Regions from separate parts of the Homo sapiens genome. Here regions 1, 2, 3, 5, 6 and 7 are each linked to region 4. The links are contacts of gene promoters, found by promoter capture Hi-C in blood cells and fetal thymus (Javierre and others, 2016). All regions are on one chromosome and are shown on one strand. The core of a region is centred on a gene start or on the middle of the fragment in contact, and the rest is flanking DNA. Distances in the headings are between cores, read along the strand shown.

What was found. The method cuts DNA at HindIII sites, captures the fragments that hold promoters and counts their contacts. A CHiCAGO score of 5 or more calls a contact.
Region 1: a contact is called between a fragment that was not itself captured here and the fragment with the promoter of RBM43 in region 4, in 9 of 17 cell types (naive CD8 T cells, M2 macrophages, monocytes and 6 more). The highest score is 11.4, in naive CD8 T cells.
Region 2: a contact is called between a fragment that was not itself captured here and the fragment with the promoter of RBM43 in region 4, in 15 of 17 cell types (total CD8 T cells, naive CD8 T cells, total B cells and 12 more). The highest score is 33.1, in total CD8 T cells.
Region 3: a fragment that was not itself captured here is called in contact with the fragment with the promoter of RBM43 in region 4 in 4 of 17 cell types (total CD8 T cells, naive CD4 T cells, activated CD4 T cells and 1 more); the score reaches 10.7 in total CD8 T cells.
Region 5: a contact is called between a fragment that was not itself captured here and the fragment with the promoter of RBM43 in region 4, in 1 of 17 cell types (total B cells). The highest score is 5.6, in total B cells.
Region 6: a fragment that was not itself captured here is called in contact with the fragment with the promoter of RBM43 in region 4 in 8 of 17 cell types (naive CD8 T cells, activated CD4 T cells, monocytes and 5 more); the score reaches 14.1 in naive CD8 T cells.
Region 7: a fragment that was not itself captured here is called in contact with the fragment with the promoter of RBM43 in region 4 in 7 of 17 cell types (total CD8 T cells, naive CD8 T cells, non-activated CD4 T cells and 4 more); the score reaches 10.5 in total CD8 T cells.

What each region holds. Positions count from the first base shown.
Region 1 is chr2:149,616,582-149,619,543 of GRCh38, forward strand. The region is part of intron 1 of MMADHC-DT (MMADHC divergent transcript); the gene reads left to right. Among named protein-coding and RNA genes, the nearest start is that of MMADHC, 30 kb to the left of the region's middle. The HindIII fragment of the contact is 542 bases long and covers 1,127-1,668 here.
Region 2 is chr2:149,598,617-149,601,611 of GRCh38, forward strand. All of the region lies in intron 1 of MMADHC-DT (MMADHC divergent transcript), which reads left to right. Among named protein-coding and RNA genes, the nearest start is that of MMADHC, 12 kb to the left of the region's middle. The HindIII fragment of the contact is 2,371 bases long and covers 432-2,802 here.
Region 3 is chr2:149,530,226-149,533,172 of GRCh38, forward strand. No RefSeq gene overlaps it. Among named protein-coding and RNA genes, the nearest start is that of MMADHC-DT, 56 kb to the right of the region's middle. The HindIII fragment of the contact is 3,710 bases long and covers 1-2,947 here.
Region 4 is chr2:151,260,033-151,263,303 of GRCh38, forward strand. It overlaps RBM43 (RNA binding motif protein 43), which reads right to left and starts at 1,831. Exons shown (of 4, transcript NM_198557.3): 1 at 1,693-1,831. The coding sequence starts at 1,695. RefSeq lists a silencer at 1,375-1,644 and an enhancer at 1,685-1,914. The HindIII fragment of the contact is 8,034 bases long and covers 1-3,271 here.
Region 5 is chr2:152,700,693-152,703,770 of GRCh38, forward strand. All of the region lies in intron 2 of PRPF40A (pre-mRNA processing factor 40A), which reads right to left. Among named protein-coding and RNA genes, the nearest start is that of PRPF40A, 15 kb to the right of the region's middle. RefSeq lists enhancers at 183-810, 297-1,496, 1,769-2,270. The HindIII fragment of the contact is 5,812 bases long and covers 1-3,078 here.
Region 6 is chr2:149,556,518-149,559,487 of GRCh38, forward strand. No RefSeq gene overlaps it. Among named protein-coding and RNA genes, the nearest start is that of MMADHC-DT, 29 kb to the right of the region's middle. RefSeq lists a silencer at 1-232. The HindIII fragment of the contact is 4,195 bases long and covers 1-2,970 here.
Region 7 is chr2:152,725,226-152,728,198 of GRCh38, forward strand. The region is part of intron 2 of ARL6IP6 (ARF like GTPase 6 interacting protein 6); the gene reads left to right. Among named protein-coding and RNA genes, the nearest start is that of ARL6IP6, 8.1 kb to the left of the region's middle. The HindIII fragment of the contact is 1,260 bases long and covers 785-2,044 here.

The DNA of each region.
Region 1 (2,962 bases), core at 148-2,647, 1.6 Mb before region 4:
ATTGTGAGTCCTCACTGAATTAGATTCTTCCCCCTGAAAAAGCTACCCCTGGAAAGATGTTTGGCACTTTTGGATATTGCTCTTTTGTGTTTTTTTTTTGGACCCCCAGGGAACCATTTAGTGAAAATGAACCATTATACTTGAATTCCCGTTCAGCCACTAGAAGAACCATTGCCCATGACTTCCCATTCACAAAAGCCATGCTCCAGCATAAGTTTCTGTCTGAAGCACTTTCTAGTTCCAATCCCATGTCTTTGGAATATTTCAGGCATGCAGGAGATCTTTTCTGGAGGTTTTACTGGAATGATTAGTTTGTGCTTGAAACAGGAGAAGCAGCTAAGGATGAGGCCTACTGGGACTCTAGATGCCATGGAGACAAGCAGATATTAGTTATGATTTCCATCATTTTTTTCACTACCTCTCTGAAAGTAGTAGATATTGTGATAAGACCTCTCAAGGAAGGGAGGACAATTATCCTCTTTCTCCCCTACCTCACCTTTCCACCCTATAAAAGTGTGGCAGACTCAAACCAAACTTGTTGGCTGGAAGCCTAAAGGGATTCCTCCTCATGTGGCAGGCTGTCGTAGCATTTTTATGATAGCTAGTGTTTCTTTTGGTCTGAAACTCTGGTATGTGAAATATAGGTCAGGGGTTGGAAATTAATGCCTGCTTTTCATGTGAGAAGGAATAATTGGCATGAAATGTAGTAAAGAATGCCTGCAAGCCTGGCGGTGTTGGGTCATTTTTTTTTTTTTTTTTTTGTTATTGGTTTTGGCTGCTATTCCCAGAAAAATAATGGGCAGGTTCACATTTCTTAGAACATATCTTTATCAACTCTGACAACTTACTGTGTCTTGGACCCCCAAGAGACAGTCAGCCTGGAAGTCTTTGCTTGTGCCATTTCTGTGCTGGATCCTTGGCTGTACACACCATGACAAATTAATACAGATGGAATAATGAATTTCTCTTATCCCTGAGACCAGACCTGCTGGGGAAAACATCTATATCCTTTGAGAGATTTGAAATTAGTATAACAAGTTCTATACAGAGATGATCATGTTGAATAAAGGTTTTATTTTACTCTTACATGTACAGTCATCACTGGAGTATGCACATATTACAGGGAAGCTTAGTCTACAAATGGGTTGGGTTCTAACCATTAATTTTGGAATGTTGCAGACATTTTCCTTTATGAAGAATGTTATAGGTCTATCTGACTTAAAAATCAATAGGGGAGTAAAAGTACAGTGCATTTTCAATGAAAAACAATAGAAAACACATAGTTTTAATACTATTAATTAGGCAAAACAGAGGAACAACACAATCGAAGAAGAAATAGTTTTTGCTTTTCTCAAATGTGGGTGCTTGCAGTTTGATTAGGGGCAGATGAATCAATGCCTTTTGGTGTTTTAAAGTGGTTTTGAAAACATTCAAGGACTTGAAGGGTTGGAGGCCAATCTTTTTCTATTAAGTCTGTGACCATTATAGTTAAAAAAGCTCATTAGAAAAAAGAAACCTGAAGCAACTTTTTTTTTTTCTCATTGTCTCTTTAACACATTGGGTTGAATAGCTTTTTTCCCGATTCTTGGATGAAATTTTGAGCAGATCTCAGAGTTTTAAAAATTGCTCTCTATTTTCTGGCAATTAGTAATCTTCCAGTTACTTTAAAGCTTTAAGCAGTTCAGTTCAGCATAATAATAGAAACCCATTGTCCTCTTTAAATTTTCTCCCATTTCCCAGCCAGGGCCTGACCAAGAATTGGAAGCCTGGTGTGTGTGTGGTGTTTGTGTGTATGCATGTGTGTGAATGCATGTGAATGTGTGTATAAATGCATGTGTATGAGAGTGTATGTATGTGAATGTAAAGTGTGTGTGTGTGTGTGTGTGTGTGTGTGTGTGTGTGTGTGTATGAGACATGGCATCTCCTCTTCCATCACTAACTATGGCTTCTAGTGCCTTCAGCACTGGAGGGGGATAAGGGAGAAGAGTTAAGGGGACATCAAAGAGCTTACTGATGTGATTTGGATTTGCCATCATGGAGGCTCAAACCTGACTTTATCACAGGGGTGTTTTTGGAGTGATTTTGCCTGTGGGAGCCTCAACTGCAACTATAATTACTGTAAGATAGGTGATACCTCATACAGTTTGTTACTTTTGACACTGTCCTCGATTCCTGGCAGTTTGCTATGTCTTTCCAGGCAGTCCTTCCAAGAACTCTAGGTTTGTTCCTTCCTGTGTGGCACACAGTTGGTGTGCAGAAAGTTTGATTCCTGCCTTGTTCTCTGCATTGCTCCTTCAGGCCGGTCTAGCCACAATGTCTTATACCTGCACTAACATTCTTTTAAAACTCTGGGAGATATTTATCAAACTCTTCAAGTGTCTCCTCCCCTTGAAGTTCCTCTCACTTGGCTTAAAGCAAAGAAGTAGGTTTTCTCCCTTGGGAGAGCCATGCTGCCAATAACTCTCTCAACAGGATTCTTCTCCAGTTCTTCAAACTGTAGAGGTTTTTTTTTTTTCTTTTCTTTTTTTTTTAATTAGGGTTCATTGATGCTGATAAAAACGGTTTTACAATCATCTTAGCAGTTCTGCACAGGGCTCTGTTCTTACCTCACTGTCATATGATATTTAGGCCTTAGGAGCCTAGAAAAAGCTGAAGTAGAAATAATTTTATTTATTATTCTGTCGAATGTCCAATTTACTTCAATACATGAAGTCTTCTTGGCTTTTGCTGTTGAGTATTATTAATACTGCTCCAATCAGCCCGAATTCAGGTTTTTTATGCTCACAAGTAGCATTATGAGAAAAACTAAAAGAAAGGTATTGGTAAAAAAGACATTGCTTACTCTGAGATAAATCTGACAGTGATATATGACAGGAAGAAATGCAAATGGCAAAGAAATATTAAAAACATAGTCTAGCGTGAACTTGAATGTGGAAAAATGGTGGTGGGGAAGGGAAGTTTC
Region 2 (2,995 bases), core at 367-2,866, 1.7 Mb before region 4:
AAAATTATCAAGCCTATATTCTCAACAACAATCTGGGATTTGAGTTAATTTTAATGTCCAATTTGTGTCCCTCTTGCCCCCTTTACATGTGTGACTTTATTTTCAGCTATCTTTTAATATTATTCACTCTTAGTCACACCAACTATGCTTATCCCTACCTAAGTCCTTCTCATCTTGTTATCACCAGCTGGTAAATTCTTCCTGCTTCCTTTACTTATATAAATGTGGCTGCTTTTTCAATATCAGCTCCAAGCCATCTCCTCCATGAAGCTATCTGGGTAATTCACAGAAATCTGCTTTCCTGAATCATAGAGCATTGCTCAGTGTAGCTCATGATTATAACCTAGTCTTAGTTGCTTTTTAATTAGTTTGCACACGTGTACATATACACACACATGCACACACACACACACATGACCAACTAGATTACAAGCTTTTCAAAAGTGGGGGCTGTACCCCAGTGACATCTAGTAATATGCTGAGTATCATATATACATTTTCAATAGATAGCCATTTTTTGTTTATCTCTTTGATTGCGGAGGCTAAAACATAATAGGTATTTAATAAATGTTGAGAGATCTGAGGAATTGATTTAAATTACTCTGCTGAAGTACTAGATCTTTGATAATATTAGATTGTGACATTTGGTGTGACAATTCTGGTAGTCATTAGCATATACCTTTGCAAGAGCTAGCTCAAGTCTTATACCTTCCATGACAACTTCTCTAGGCTAATACAGTCCTCATTGTTCCTCCTGGTCCTGAATTTCTCCTTCTCCTGTTTCTGAACTCCTAAAGCATCGTACATCTACATTGGGCAAGTGCCTTAGGACTACATCTGTAGAATGGGTTTAATAATAGTGCCCATCTATTTGGAACTATGATAATTAAATGACAATATGTATAAATTACTTAGAACATTTCTGGCATATTATAAGTAATCAATAGGTGTTTTAGTCATGGTTCTCCAGAGAGGCAGAACTGATAAGATATATGAATTAGCTCAGTTGATTATGGAGGCTGAGAAGTCCCATGATAGACGTCTGCAAGCTAGAGAACCAGGGCAACTGGTAGCATGGCTCACTGCAAAGTGTGAAGGCTTCAGAACCAAGGAAGCCAATAGCATAACTCTCAGTCCAAGGCCAAAAACCTGGGAGCCTGGGGGTTGCTGGTGTGTTTCCCAGAGTCCAAAAGCTGAGAAGGGGAGTTGTAACATTCAAGAGCAGCGGGAAGAAGTTATCCTAGCTTTAGAAGACAGAGCAAGATTTTGCCCTTTCTCCACCCTTTTATTCCATCTGGGCCCCCAGCCAATTGAAAGGTATCTGCCCACATTGAGGGTGGATCTTCCCCACTCAGTTCAAAGACTCAAATTCTAATCTCTTCGCAGAACATTCTCAGAGACATACCTATGGTGGCCTAATAATTTTAATCAAATGCCAAATCACCTGGAGTTTCCTTTCAGCGGAAGAGCGAAGGACTTTAATTTATCACAGTCTAGCTGGCGAGATTGTGGAGAAAAGGGAAAACTTATACACTGCTGGGGGGAATGTAAATTAGTTCAGCCATTGTAGAAAGCAGTTTGGCAATTTCTCAAAGAACTTAAAACAGAATTAAGATTTTGTCCAGCAATTCCATTATTGGGTATATACTAAAAGGAATATAAGTCATTCTACCATAAAGACACATGCACACATATGTTCATCACAGCAGTATTCACAATAGCAAAGACATGGAATCAACCTAAATGCCCGTCAATGGTAGACTAGATAAAGAAAATGTGGTACATATACACCATCGAATACTATGCAGCCATAAAAAAGTACAAGATCATGTCCTTTGTAGCAGCATGAATGAAGCTGTAGGCTGTTGCCCGAACAGAAAACCAAATACTGCATGTTCTCACTTATAAGTAGGAGTTAAACATTGGGTATGGACGCAGATAAGGGAACAACAGACACCAGGGTCTATTTGAGGGTGGAGGATGGGAGGAGAGTGAAGATCCAAAAACTGCCTATCAGGTATTATGCTTATTACCTGGATGATGAAATAATCTGTACACCAAACCCTGTGACATGCAATTTACCTGTGTAACAAACCTGCACGTGTACCCCAAAACTAAAATTTTTTTAAAAAGTCACATATTGAGGTAAAAAAAAATACAAATAATTTTCATTAGAAAAAACTTATCCCAATCTACCTTATACCTCTTCACATGCAGTATAAGAACCTCACAACAGGGTGCTTCCATCTCTTTATCCTGATGGCTGCTGTTCTCATGTATTTTACTTCCATGTTTGCTGTGAATCCCATACTACACTGCTCTCATTTTTGCTTTAAACAGTCGATTCTATTTTGATGATATTTTGTAAAATGAGAAAATTGTTTTTTTACATTCCTCTACAAACTTACCATTTCTGGCTTTCTTTAATCCTTTGTGTAGATTTAATTTTCCACCTGGTGTTATTTTAGCTCTGCCTAAAGAACTTCCTTTAGCGTTGTTGGAGTGGAATTCTTTTGGTGATGAATTCTCTTCATTTTGTTCTTCCAGAAATGTACATTCATTCTTCACATTGGAAATATATTTTTCTTGATAAAGAAATGTAGGTAGACAATATTTCCCCCTCTCAATACATCTGGCTTGCATAGTTTATGATGGAAGTCTGCTGTCATTCTTCTCTTTATTGCTTTGTTTGCAGTGTGTCACAATGTGTCTTATTTTTATGGCTGATCTTAAGATTTTCTTTTTATCATTAGTTTTTGGCCATTTAATTATATAGTGCTTTGGAATCTAATACCATTCTCAAGCTTTTACTTGATACCTTATATATTTCGTTTTTGGTTTTTAAAATTTTGTTGTTGTTGTTGTTATTGTTTCATCTTGGCTGGTGGGAACATGAACAATTCCTAGCGCTCTGTGAGCTGCAAGAATATTTCTGAGTACTCCTTTCTTGTGTTTTTTTCCCAAGCATGAGTCATTTCCTCTCATGCATGCACAG
Region 3 (2,947 bases), core at 185-2,684, 1.7 Mb before region 4:
CAAAAAGACAAGAAACTACGGAGGAGCTTGTAACTGCCTGTTTCTGTACAACCCAAATGTCCATCAAGAGATGAATGCATAAAGGAAGAGATATATATTTATACAATGGCATACTACTCAGCAGTAAAAAAAAAAAATGAATTACTGGTATGTGTAATAACATGGACTAACTCTATATACATTATGCTAAGCAAAAGAAGCCATGTAAATGACTCCATTTGACATTCTAGAACAGGCAAAATTAATCTTGGGCACTATTTATTAGAATGAGCAAATGATTAAAAAAATCTGGAACTCTGGTGGGAATGCAAAATGGAACAGTCACTTTGGAAAGCACTTCAGCAGTTTCTTATAATGTTCATATACATTTAGCCTGCAATCCCATTCCTTGCTATTTACCCAAGTGGAACAAAACCTGTATTCATACAAAAACCCATACATAAATGATTAGCATGTTTTTATTCATAATAACCCCCAAACTAAAAAGAACCCAAATGTCTCTCAACTGTGGAATGAGTAACCACGTCATAATATATCAATATAATGAAATACAACCCAGCAATAAAAATAGATCATTGATATACACAACAACACAGGTGGAGCTTAAATGCTCCATGTTAGTGGGAGAAACCACACCCAAAGGATACATACAAACTGTGATTTCATTTCTATGCCATGCCACAGAAAACAAGATCAATGATTTCAAGTGGTTGGCTACAAAAGGTGTGGGGGAAATTTTGGCAGTTATGAAATGTTCTATGTCTTTATTGTGATGGTAGTTACATGACTGTTTATTTGTGAAAACTCACAGAACTGTGGCCTTAACTCCATGGAGGTTTCTCCTTCAGCAGAAGCTATATATGTTATGAAAACCATGAGAGAAACAGTCTAGGAAGAAAAATCAATGAATTAAACTCAGGGAAATATCCACCAGGAGACTTAGCCACGAGCATCCACATAAAACTCTTTCCCATCTCTTGAAATCACAAACTCTATGGCTGGTAACATAGGTAACAGTGTCCTTTTCTCTCTCGGAATCCTACCTCTCACCTTGGCAGCCTGCACAACTGCTTATTTTCTTGACTGAGAAAGACCTGATTCTAAGAGAGAGAATTCTTTGTATTAGACAAGTTAGACCAAACTGAGATAAGAAATAAACTCAAACATTTAATGGCTCAAACAATAGAAGTTAGCTAGAATTCAGTCACATCACCTCACCGAACTAGAAGAGAGGCTGTAATATCAAGTCCAGGTGCATGCCAGGAAGATGGGGAAAATGGAATTGGGGGGACAACCAGCAGTAGATTTTATGCTCTGAAACCATTTAAAATAGCAAGTGGTACTTTCAACTGCTTTGCTTATCAAGGGTTTGGCTTAAACATAGGCAACTATTCACATATCTACTTTGTTTTGTTTTGTTTTGTTTTGTTTTGAGACAGGGTCTCACTCTGTTGCCCAGGCTGGAGTGCAGTGGTGCAATCATAGTTTACTGAAGCCTGAACCTCCTAGGCTGATGTGATCCTCCCACGTCAGCCTCCCAAGTAACTGGGACTACAGATGCATGCCACCATTCTGGGCTAATTTTTTTATTTTTCATAGAAACAGGATGTCTGTATTGCCCAGGCTGGTCTCGAACTGCTGAGCTTAAGTGATCCACCCACCTTGGCTTCCCAAAGTGCTGGGATTACAGGCATGAGCCAAAGAGCCCGGCTACTATTTTTATCAGGGCTTTTGACCATTCATAACTCTTTTGATAGAAAGATAAAGAACAATGGCAAAGAAGATAAAAAATCTTATCTTGTTATATTAACAGAAGTTTCAATAGTGAAAGATCTTATAATTATGGTTTCAGTTGAAGCTGATGAATTACTTGTAGGTTTAATGATGACACCACTCTGATCTTAGGTAATTGATAGGGGTCAAAATTATTAATATAATTAAATTTGTATTTGACATAATACATAATAGGCAAATCAATAACTACTAGGTGTAGCTGCTTTTGAGTTGACCTGAACTTAGAAGGCAGGATAGGCTGGAATCTTTCAGACAGTAAGAAACTAATCAGTGAGATTTTTCTAGGCTTTGCAAATTTTTTTTTTTTAATGTCAAATGCAATTCAGTATGACCAAGGGGGAAAGTGATGGCGCTGGGGAAAATACAGTTATGTAACGCCTAATGACAAAGACATGTTCTGAGAAATGCATCATTTGGTGAATTCATCATTGTGGAAACATTATAGCATGTATTTACACAAACCTAGATTGTATGGCTTGCTACACACTTAGGCTGTATGGTACAGCGTATGGCTCCTAGGCTACAAGCCAGATAGCATGTTACTATATTGACTACTATAAGCAGTTATAACACAGTGGTAAGTATTTCTGTATCTAAACATAGAAAATGTAGAGTAAAAACATAGAATTATAATCTTATGGGACCACCATCCTATATGTGGTCCAACGTTGATGAATATTGACAACATGGTCCAACGCTGTCATGGGGCACATGACTGTACTCCAAAGGATGACATAGCCCTAAACACTCAAGCATTACTCACGGAACAATTCTAATAATTACTACTGACAATGTGTACTAAATAGGTATATTTTACAACAAAAAGACAAACAAAATGTAAGCCATGATTAGAAGGAATACTGGGAACCAAACAGAATGTTTTCCTATCTTTGTTTCAGAAATGCTGGGTTCTGCGGGAAGTGCTAGCTGTGAATTATTAAGTAAGACAGAAATCTACCTGAAATATCACAGGTAAGGACAAGTAGCTAAGCAAGGAGAGTAATATCTAGCTCTGTGAAGGTAAACTACAATATAAAAAGGACTTTTGTATAAAGTAAATGCTCTTTAAATCTTTGTTAAATAAATACATAAATTAATCAAGTCTTATAGGGTATAGAACGTAGACATATTCACCAAATGCTGGAAGTGAGGA
Region 4 (3,271 bases), core at 581-3,080:
TTTTTGTATTTTTAGTAGAGATGGGGTTTCACCATGTTGACCAGGCTGGTCTCAAACTCCTGACCTCGTGATCCGCTCCCCCCTCGGCCTCTCGAAGTCTTTTTTTTTTTTTAGACAGCGCCTCGCTCTGTTGCCCAGGCTGGAGAACAATGGCGTGATCTTGGCTCCCTGCAACCTCCGCCTCCTGGGCTCAAGTGATCCTCCCACCTCAGCCTCCCCAGTAGCTGAGACTACAGGTGGATGCCATCACGCCCAGCTAATTTTTGTATTTTTAGTAGAGACTCCTGACCTCAAGTGATCCGCCCTCCTTCGCCTCCCAAAGTGCTGGGATTACAGGCGTGAGCCACCGTGCCGGGCAGGGAGATCATTTTCTGCACCCCAACAATATCAAAGAAAAACATGCAATCAATTTAAACTCAGGAAATCTTACTTCAGCTCTATGCCCTCATTAGTACTAATACCATATTTCTTTATTCGAATGTCTACTGGTAATTTATCTTTAAAATCAAAGAAACTTCTCCCTGAACCAGTATTTTTAGAAGAAAAAAACATAAAGATGTAAATTTTGTTTGGTAAGAACTAGTTTCTATGAATCATCTAATGAATTAGTACTTCAATGACTTGCCAATATTTGTCCTTAACTCCCTTTCATAGGTTGGAGAAAGTATGGCTAACATAGATAATTTTACTGAGGTCAATTATGAATAATGAGGGTTGTTCATCTCTTCTACCCACGATTAAGATAAAGAAATGCCTAGAGAAAGACAGTCCTTTCAAGGACTTTGAAACGAGCAGCTTTTAGCCAAGACATACTAACGTGATGGCGCATTTCCTTGCATCAGTATTGTGTTATAACAGACTTGGCCATCTTATCAGAAAGCAAAAAGTATATAGCAAAACTTTACTTTTGTAAGTAAGGCATTGGGAAGAAACAGAAGATTCATTGACTGCATTTGTTTATATTGATTTTCTCAAAATCAGTTGTTTATTTTCAATGACGACGCCTCTACCGCCACCAGGTCAACAAAAACGTACTTGCTTTTGCATTTCCGGGACTCTAGCATTTCAGAGCAGGAATTAAAGGCCTTGCCAAGGCTTTTAAGCGATTGATGGAAACAAAACAAAACACAGAAGGATAAATTTTGAATTTGCTAAGACAAGAATTCGCACCAAGGCAGACATAAGACATGAGGATGTCTTCCTGACTTGCGTCCTTGGCTCGAATCGTTCTTATTAGCCCTTTTCAAAAGGCAGCTGTGACCTCCATTTCTGGCTAATCAGGCCACTTTTGTTCCCCCCGAGGCGTGGGAGGACAACAGTTAAGCCCTAACAGCCTGCGAAGCAGCTCCTCGACGAACGGCGGCGTCCCCGTCGCCTGGGCAGTGGGTGTGGGAGGTGACAGCCTAGTCCTGAGCCTCTGGAGCGGGCCTATACTGCACCGCCGTACGTGAATTTCAGGAGCGCGCAATGCCGCCACCTGGGAAGGGTGCAGCGAGGCTGACCTGAGTTTGCCCGCCGGGGTGGACGGCTCTCCGGGGCCCCCGGGGTCCCTGGGGCCCCTCCGTGCGCCGCCCCCTCCCGCGCAGCCCTGCACCCTGGCCCGTCGCGCCCGGTTCCGCGCCCTTCTAGGGGACCATGGCGACGGTACAGGCACGGACCTGCACCGCAAAACCCAAAGCAAAAGCAACTTGCCATGGCGGAGGGGAGACGCGCCCTCAGCGGCCGCAGAAAGCCCACAACCAGCGGAACGCAGGCGATGGGGAGAGGAGCGAGCAGGCAGGTTTTGGTTTCGTTTTTTGTTCCAGCTCCCTTGGAGGCTACGAAGAAAAGGGCGGTCCTTCCACCCGATCCGGCTGTTCTGCGACCTCGTGGCCTCTGAGTGGGAGCTCGGACTCAGGAGTGCTGTTGCCAGCGCCTGCCCAGACGCCCTCCGTAGTTTTGCAACTTGTGGAAGCACTCTGGAGAGAGGCCGAGAGGATTCCTCGACAGGAAATTTGGGAATTCTCTGGGTGATGCATCAGTGATTGCAATTTTGTTTTTACCCGTTTTGCTAAGCAGCAGCAACAACGGCAGAGTTGATTTAAAAAAAGAAAAAACGCAAAAAGGGAAAACACATAGTAGGTGGTGGCCGCTTCCTGTGTTGATACTGGGGGGCTACGCTTTTCCTAACATCAATCATCTCGTAGTTGCAGAGAGCCCTAGATGTCATGATAGTTTTGAATCGCATGCATTATCATGTAAGGGAGTTAAATATCTTGCATGCATGCTCTCTTCTGTGTTTATATATTCGATGCCATGAAATTGAAGGGCATGTGGCTAAAACCTTTTTACTACATGAAACTTTACAACACTTTTGAAAACATTTCAATTTGGTTGATGCGCACTGTAATATTTCTCCAGATAACTGTCCAAAATTTTCCATGGAGAAGGCTTTTATCCTCATTAGTTGCTGGCCTCAAACTAACCATCTAGGATATTAAACTTCTGCCAGAATTTTACATCCAGCTACCTTTACTTTTTAGAACGTATTCTCTATCATGTTATTGATATCAATTTCTACTTCACACAGATGGTTTTTTACAACAGCAAATCAAGTTTTTCTAACATCAGTTTTAAAAAGCCCTGCACTCAGTGAAATCTGGATGTCTTTCCTACGCCCTTATTATCTGTCCAGACTTCTTCCCCTTCCCCCACCGCTCACCTGGGCCTTTTCCTCTGCACAACCTACCCCAGTTCCCCAACCCCCACCTCAACCCCCAACGCCGTGTTGGTCACCTTCCCAGCCCAGACCAGGAGCCCTCTTGGACCTCTGCCGGGTGCTAAGGACACAGGATGAGAGCGCCAGGTCCCTGCCAGCAGAGAGCTCACCACCTTGTCCATGCCTTAGCACAGGAACCCCGAATGGCGCCTGTGGGGACACAGGGAATCTCTGGACAAACTTCAAAATCAAATCAATGAATGCATGAAGAACAAAGGTAGATGGCTAGCAGATATGAAGAAACCCAATCCCACTCCTAAGAAATGTAAATTGAAATAATAAGATACCATTTTTCACAACTAGATCTGCAAAACCAGAAAGTGTTAGCCTGAATGTAAGCATCAGAGTTGCTGCAAGCATAGATGGATGCAAATACTTCTAAAGATTTTTATCAAAATGTAAAGTGCAAAAAAATGTAAAATGCACATATTCTTAGTCTCAGCAATTCTACTTTTAGAACTGAACTTGAAGTTATAGTGCGCAAATGGCACTAAGATATTGTATAGAAATTTT
Region 5 (3,078 bases), core at 206-2,705, 1.4 Mb after region 4:
AAGGATCCCATTCACAATGTAATGTGAATTTTGTTTAAAAAGATCAAAGTTGGCCAGGCGCGGTGGCTCACGCCTGTAATCCCAGCACTTCGGGAGGCCAAGGTGGGTGGATCACGAGAAATCGAGACCATCCTGGCCAACATGGTGAAACCCCGTCTCTACCAAAATACAAAAAATCAGCCAGGCATGGTGATGCGCACCTGTAGTCCCAGCTACTTGGGAGGCTGAGGCAAAGGAATTGCTTGAACTCGGGAGGTGGAGGTTGCAATGAGCTGAGATTGCGCCACTGCGCTCCAGCCTGGCGACAAAGCAAGAGTCCGTCTCAAAAAAAATAAATAAATAAAAAATAAAAATCAAAGTCTAAGATAAATGTAAGATTTTCGTTAAAATAAAAACAAAAACCAAAGCCTAAGACAGAGCAAACTGAATTTCAACTCAAGACAGTGTTCACTAGTTCTTCATGACTAACAGAATCATTCAGACTGGGAGAAGATTCAGATTCCCACTTTGAGTACACTGAGCAAGAAAGCAGCAGAAGTGGCTTTCCTTTTAAATCCACCAATGCAAAATATCATGACAGAGATGATAAATTCCTCTTCAAAAGGTTTTAATTCCCAGTTCTTCCACTTCGTTTTTCTGGTTTCTGTAGTTATCCATGCTATAACTAACCCTTCCTGCCCTTGCCGCGCCCTGACATGCCTAGACATGTCTTACGCCATAACGCATAGCCTTCCCCTTCCCGCCTAGATATCTGTGTTCAATTACAAACAGCAGCCAATCGAGTCAGTTTAGATTGTGCAGTCCAACCCTAGCCAATAGGGGAAAGACACAACAGTAGGGACCAGCTGTTAGGAATAAGAACCCCTTTCCCTCCCTTGTCCAGTGTGCTCTTGCCATTGCTCCATCCGCGAGACACACCCTTCTACAGAAGTAAATTGCCTTGATGAGAAAACTTTTGCCTGAGTATATTTTCACTTTGTGACACCAAGCATTTACTTCCAACAATTTGGGGGCCCACCCAGGATTCCCATTCTCCTCCGGGGAACCGGTCTCTGGTCACTTCTTGTGGGGAGGCGCATCCCATCGCCTTGTTGCAGTGGCCTCAGTGTGAGAGATTGGAACCCATCCAGTGCAACAAATAAACCCAGACTCTCGGCAACAAGAAAAGATACAGGCCAGCAGCTTGGCAAAAGGATTCTCACATGCTGCAGCAACCAGGTAACTCTGCACAGACCAAGGTAAGAAATGTTGCAGGGGTGACAAAGTATTTCCTTGGTGGTTGGGATATTCTGGAGGATGAAAGTGTGTGTGAATGATCACAAGCACTACTGCTTGCGGTGCTGCTTGTGTGAATGGTACCAAGCACTACTGCTGTGCAGAGTGAGTGGGTCCTATCTGCAGTTCTGTGGTCACTTCATACAGCTTAGGGCGGATCCTGCTGTGGGTTTCATACCGGCATGCCAATGCCAAGAGGGGCCTAAATTCCCACGAGGGAAGTAGCCAGAGTGGACAAAGCAAAAGAAGGATGCAAGGATCCTCCAGGAGGCGGGGTTAAAGGATAGGCAAGAAATCTCTAATACAAGGGACTGAGCCTTAACAAGCCTCCAGAGAATAGGCAAGAAGTCTCTAATACTAGGACCTGACATGGGAAATACCCTAAGCAAGACAAGGAGTAAAAAGGATAAAGGTAGCAGTAAAGATATTGCCCCGATAGTCCCCTAGGTCTCATGTTAAAAGACTGGAAAGATAATGAGAAGACTAAACATAAGCAGCAGCAATTACTGTTTTATTTGGACTCAGGGACCCATCCTCAAACCCTCAATCTTCTGGCCAAAGTTTAGGTCAAATGAGAGTGCGATGTGTCAGCTTTTGATTCAATATGTCAATGATAAAAGCCCAGCTTCTTAAGAGGAAATGGACTATGCTCTTTGTTGGAGGCAGGGACCTGTCCTCCTTTTTCCCTTTGAGACAACTAGGAAAGAACCTGATCTAGCATCACAAAAGGAAAAATTAGGTAAGTTAGTTCCAATGCTCAAAGACTCCAGCACATGGGATCCCCTAGACCATCTTCCCCCACTCAGTGACCCCAACCCCTCTCCTCAGGCAGCCGCTGCTGCCCCAGATCCCACTCTAGATCCTTCACCTACTCATGTTACTCCTCCTCCTTACAATCCTGACTTTTAGAAATTATCATCCCAGGAGCCTGTCCCCTATCAGCCTAAGGACCCCTCCCTAAAGGGACTCCAGTGTGAAATAGAGCAATGTAAAAAGGATATCCAGAACTTCCCTTTCCCCTCTACAACTCAAGAGTCAGCCCCTGCTCTCTTTCCCTTAAGAGAAATGCCATAAAGAGGGGGAACCATTGGCTCCGTGAATGCTCCCTTAATCAGTTCAGAGGTCCAGAATTTAAAGAAAGAGCTTAAGCCACTGCAAGATGACCCTTATGGAGTGACAGATCAAACTGATCAATTTTTAGGACCTCAGTTATACACTTGGGTAGAGTTAATGTCCATCTTGGACATCCTCTTTTCAGGAAAAGAAGGGAGTGTGATTCGTAGGGCTGCTATGGTAATTTGGGAACGTGAGTGTCCTCCCAGTCAAAAAGTTCCTACTGTGAACCAGAAATTCCCCGCCCGAGACCCCCAGTTGGACAATAAAAACATGCAGGACCTAAGGGAGATGATAATAAAAGGAATTCAGGAATCAGTACCCCAAACCCCAAATCTCTCTAAAGCATTTGATATATAACAAAAAAAAAGGATGAAGGGCCTATGAGATTCCTAAATAGACTGAAAGAGCAAATGAGACAATATGCAGGCCTCAATTTAGAAGATCCCCTTGGGCAAGGAATATTAAAACTCCAATTTGTCACTAGAAGATGGCCAGACATCTCAAAAAAAATTACAAAAGTAGAAAATTGGGAAGACCATCTCCTAAGTGAACTTCTCAGGGAAGCTCAAAAAGTATATGTGAGAAGACATGAAGAAAAGCAAAAACAAAAGACAAAACTTATGTTATCCACCTTCCAACAGATGACTCCAAACCCATATACTTCTAAACAGAGCTTCAAGGGGCCAG
Region 6 (2,970 bases), core at 337-2,836, 1.7 Mb before region 4:
TGCATGTTGAGTTTTGAGGTACTGCACACTTCGCCAACAGGAAACCATTTCAAATGCCAATAAAAACTTTCCAAAAAAAAACATCTCTGGGCATGTAATGGCTGATTAAGTCTAAAGCAGTGAATTCTGTGATTACTTAACACACTATCTGTGTATGTACAGCTAGTAGGAGTGCTCCATTTATTTGTTTTGGATGTGATGAATTGTTTGTGATGGTATTACTTTTCCAAAGTTGTGGTGAGATTAAATACTAAAGTGTTCTGCCAAATACATGTCCTCTTGAAGATGTTTGTATTATAATTTTAGGAAAATATATTTGGGGGTAATTTTTACTGTTTAGTTGTCCACAAAATTTGTACACATTCAGAGGTCAGATAATAAGAACAGCTAAAATTTACTGACCTCTTCCACAGGAATAGTAAGAAATGGCTTGCATATGTCATCCCTCCTAAACCTTAAATCTTCTCATGAGATGGGTATTAACAGAAGTGGAACTTGCCCAAGGTCAGAAAACTTGTAAATAGCACAACTGAGATCCAGACTCAGGAGTTTTTTTCCAAACCCCAGTCTCTTAACCACGATGCTGTACAGTCCTTTGATTTTGGATGAGTATCTGGATAACTGAACTAGTCATGATATTTCATGCATGTTGTAATGTTGAGAAATTTCAGAATCCTAAAACAGTTGTTAAAGGTTGGAACATAAGAATGAGCATGAAAATATTATAAGCGACTTGATTTCCTAGAACCAAATGGAAATTAAAATAGTACATGATCACGTAGCAAATTATTAGCATACATCAGAGAACAAAAGATAAGCAGAGCATAACTGCTGAGAGGTATGATGACAAAGCCTGTCAAAACTCTTTCCAATGGGTCTGAAAATCTTTATTGTTTTGATCCCACCCCTACCACACCCTCTCTCCTGAGCTGTGGAAGATCGGTGGGTTAAATTCTATCATCAAATGCAATAATGGAGTTTCAAATATTCAAGTTGAGTGAGGTATGCTTGTCATTCAACTTTACATCCTCTATCCTGACTACTCTCTGAATTCTAGGTTCCCAACTCTAAGTATATGCAGATATTCACCACCATTTTAACTTTACCACATAAATGTAAGAGGGCTATATGCTGCAAACTAGTACTTGGTAGTGAGACCACCAGGCTAGGCATTAGGGTCCAAGGCCCAATTGCTTGTGTTCCAGTCCTGGCTCTGCCATTCAATATCCATGCGACTTTAAACTCATCACCTGGCCTCTCTCTGCTTCAGGTTTCTGATCCATGAAATGGGAATAATAATACTTATTTCATGGGGTTGTTATGAAGATTATATGCATTATGTATAAAGCACTTAGCTAAGTGCTGGGCACAGTAAGCACGATGAAAATGTTGGCTTGTTACTATTATTACCAGTGCTATTATTATTATTATTCTTTTAGTCATCCATGTTGAAAACTGCAGTCTTTTGTTTGGATTGCTGGAAGTGGGATTGGACAGCAAGACCTAGGGAGCAGTCAGTTCCTGCTTTAATTTCTACTTTGGAATATTTATTTCATTCTTACGGCCACCACCCTAATTTAGGCCTCTATTACCTTTGAGTTACCCCATTACAACAGTAGTCTTTTTGTTGCCAGTTACTTTTTGCCTACAGTTTATATCCTATACCACCAGGAGATCTATCTTTCCAAAAGTTGATTTAATCGAATTATTCTTCTGCTTGAAAACCTTCAATGTTTAATGCTATAGCATATCGGTGAATTCCTTATTCTGGAACTAAAAATTCCTTCAATCTAGCCCCAAGGTGTCTTTCTAGCCTCATTTCCCAAGTCCTTGCAGTCAAGGAAACTCTAGGTAAACCAGTCCACTCTCTTGTGTTAGTCTCATGTTTTAGCTCCTGGAATATCCTCTGCTCACTATTCAAATCCCGCCTGCCTTTCAAGGGCCAGCTGAGATTTCCTCTCCTCCAAGAGTCTCTAGACATGCCATAAGCTCTACGACTTGGAGCAGACATGAAGTATGTCAGCATCAAACGTCAAACTTTACTAATTCAGAGTGGACGTATATTGGATATGATTAAGTAAAAAGCAAAGGAAAGGTGTAGAGTTTGAGAAAACCTCTGTGAATCATAAAATTTTAAATGATTTAATTATTTTTATACCGTGTTAGTCCGTTTGGGCTGGTTTGACAGAATACCACAAACTGGGTAATTTATAGTTAGAGGTAAACTTGAACAATTTGGGTTTGAACTGCCCGGGTCCACTCATATTCAGATTTCCTTCTGCCTCTGCCACCCCTGAGACAGCAAGAACAATCCCTCCTCTACCTCCTCCTCCTCAGCCTTCTCAACATGAAGACAATGAGGATGAAGACCTTCATGAGGAGCCCCTTCCACTTAATAAAGAGTAAATATATTTTCTCTTCTTCATGATTTTTTTTTTAACATTTTCTTTTCTCTAGTTTATTTCCCAGCACTTTGGGAGGCCTAGGCGGCGGATCACGAGGTCAGGAGATCGAGACTATCCTGGCTAACATGGTGAAACCCCGTCTCTACTAAAAATACAAAAAGTAGCCGGGCGTGGTGGCAAGTGCCTGTAGTCCGAGCTCCTCAGGAGGCTGAGGCAGGAGAATGGCGTGAACCCAGGAGGCTGAGGCAGGAGAATGGCGTGAACCCAGGAGGCGGAGCTTGCAGTGAGCTGAGATCGCGCCACTGCACTCCAGCCCAAGGAAAAAAAAAATTCAGAATGTAATACATTTAACATACAAAATATGTTAACTACTCATGTTGCCAACAAGGCTTCCAGTCAACAGTAGGCTGTCAGTAGTTCAGTTTCTGGGGAGTCAAAAGTTATATGTGGATTTTTGACTCAGCCTGGGGTTGGGGTGGTCGGCACCCCTAATCCCCCTCTTGAACTGTAATAGAAATTTCTCACTGTTCAGGGTGCTGGCAGATGGGGTGTGTGGTAAGGGCTC
Region 7 (2,973 bases), core at 165-2,664, 1.5 Mb after region 4:
TTGGGATTTTAGTGGTCACATATTGTTCTTTCTCAAAACATTCTCCTATTTCATTATTTTAGTATTACTCATCAATTCTCAACTATGGTCGAAAGAATAAAATAATTATGATGGAATTAGGATTCCAGTAAGACTTTCCTAAGACTTTAAGTATTTTTTTCATCTTTTATGAGGTCTGCATCCTAATTTATTTGATACTGTTTGTAAGTGGACAGATGCTAAGGGCAGATGTGTATACAAAGGTGATTTGGAAAAAAAAATGCAAAAAAGAATTATTGGGTTGACCATTTGAATTGTTTGTAATCTAAAAATGAAAATATGTTACAAATTATGGAGCAAAGAAGATTGTTGTCCTCTTTTCGTCAAAATAAGCCATGAAAGGCTTAAAAATTCCTTCAAACATTGTGTTTTAATGACGCAAGTGCAAAAAAAAAAAGCAGGAATAATGACAAGCTGTAACCAATTTGAGATGTATCTGAAATCTGGAAGTGGTATTTACAAGATGGATATGTTGTAGATTCATACATGAAGTTAGTAAGCAATTATTTGCACTCAGGTCGTGCCCATTTTTGGTGTACATGACTTTAGGGAAACTGGGAATTGAAATTCGGATTTGCTGTATTTATTTCTTATGAAAATTTTTAACAAAGTTTTTTTCCTGCTGTCTTTTTGCTCTCTAAATTATTCTTCAAGTGTCATGAAAATAAAGGAAATAAAAAAGCCTCTTTGGACTTATATGATAAAAATATTGATGACTGTTTTCCCTGTTATACTGAAGATTACAAGCTTCAGAGGAGAATATAAATTTAACAGGATTGCCCATGAATTAATTGTTTAAAGCTGGATGATGGGTATATGAGTTTTATATACTTCTCTCAACTTTTTCCTGTGTTTGAAATGATCTGTAATAAAAGTGTTGGGTTTTTTTTTTAATTTTCCCATGTGAATCTAATGATTTACCAATGTTGGGAACTACAGGTGTTATTTATTTTTGAAATTTCAGTCACTTAATCTGTCAGAGGATCACCTTCCTCATCTGTTTCAACAGAAAGATGTAGAAATGCTACAGTCTGGGTTGCAGGTGGTCGGGCGATTGGGTGAAGGCCTTAACCAGTGTAACTGCTATAGCTACCATGCACTCTGCACCCACTATGCTCATGTTGCATTGGCAGGAGAGGAGAGAGCACTTTCCTCTGCTCCTGCACTTGGCTTTGACGTGTAAAGAGACACTTTGCTCTAGGGATTTAAAGACTTGAGCTATCTATAGAATGTGATTTAGAGAGGATACCAAATTATTTAAAATAATGGTCATCCTCTCAAGTTAGAAAACTATAGAATCTAATAAAGTTGAGAACATTTGCTTACATAAACATTTAAAAATTGATGGTTAGTTTCATGCATATGATACATCTAAGTTTTATTAGTAGCCAGCTGGTAATAGTTTTTACAACTTTTAAAGTTAGCTAAGTACAGCCATACACCACATACCATTTTGGTCAACAGTGGTCTGCATATATGCCTGTATGATGGTGGTCCCATAAGATTACAGTGGAGCTGAAAAATTCCTATTTAGTGGCATTGCAACTGTCCTAACTTGGTAGTACAATATATTGCTCACATGTTGGTGTTGATGCTGGTATAAACCAACCTATTACCAATCTAGTTTTATATAACCTTCCAGTCATAAAAAAAAATACAGCACAATTACGTGCAGTACATAACATAATTCTTGATAAACAATTATGTTACTGGTTTATGTATTTACTATGCTTCTTATTGTTTTAGATTATATTACTTCTGCTTAAAAAAAGTTGACTGTAAAACAGCCTCAGGCAGGTCCTTCAGGAGGTATCCCAGAAGAAGGCATTGTTGTCATAGGAGATGACAGTTTCATGCATGTTGTTGCCCTTGAAGACCTTTCAGTGGAAAAAGATGTGACAGTGAAAAACAGTGATATTACCTTGACCCTATGTAGGCCTAGGCTAATGTGTGTGTGTCTTAGATTTCAACAAAGAAGTTTAAAAACTAAAAAATTAGAAATAGAAGCTTATAGAGTAATGGTATAAAGAAAAAACATTTTTGCACAGCTGTACAGTGTCCTTTTGTTTTAAACTGTTAGTAGAAAAGGGTAAAGTTAAATTTTAAAATTTATAAAGTAAGAAAGTTACAGTAAGCTAAGGTTAATTTATTAATGAAGAGAAAAATTTTTTAATTTAGCGTAACCTAAGTGTACAGTGTTTATAATAGTCTATTGTAGTGGACAGTAGTGTCCTTGGCCTTCACCTTCACTCATCAGTCACTCGCTCACTGATTGACCCAGAGCAACTCTTTGTCCTGTAAGCTCCATTCATTGTAAGTACCCTATACAGGTGTACCATATTTTATCTTTTACACTGTATTTTTACTGTACCTTTTCTATATTTAAGTATGTTCAGATACACAAGTACTTATTGTTGTATTACAGTCGCGTGCAGTATTTGGTATAGTAACATGCCGCACAGGTCTGTAGCATTGGAATAATAGGATATAACTGTATAGCTCATAGGTGTGTAGTAGGCTATATACCTAGGTTTTTGTAAGTACGCTCTTGTGATGTACAAACAACAACGAAATCACCTAATGATGCATTTCTCAGAACATATCCCTGTCATCAGTGTATGATTGTATTGTATTTTCATTGTTAGTATCATAAAATGCATTAGTTACGTAAGTAATTTAATCTCACCAGGAAAGATTCCAACAATTAAAGCAAAGGCTTTCACCGATCTACCTGTGTGTCTTTTTACATCTTTTTCTCTTTGTTTACATATGTATAGTCATTTAAAATACATGTTTTTTTCACTGTTATAGGAAAAATATAATTGGAATCATGTATATTTTGCAGCCTTGTTAAAGTGCCTTTTGGAGTATATTCTGTATTAGTATACATAGGTCTACCTCATTTTTTCATGACTGCATTGTATTTCATAATAT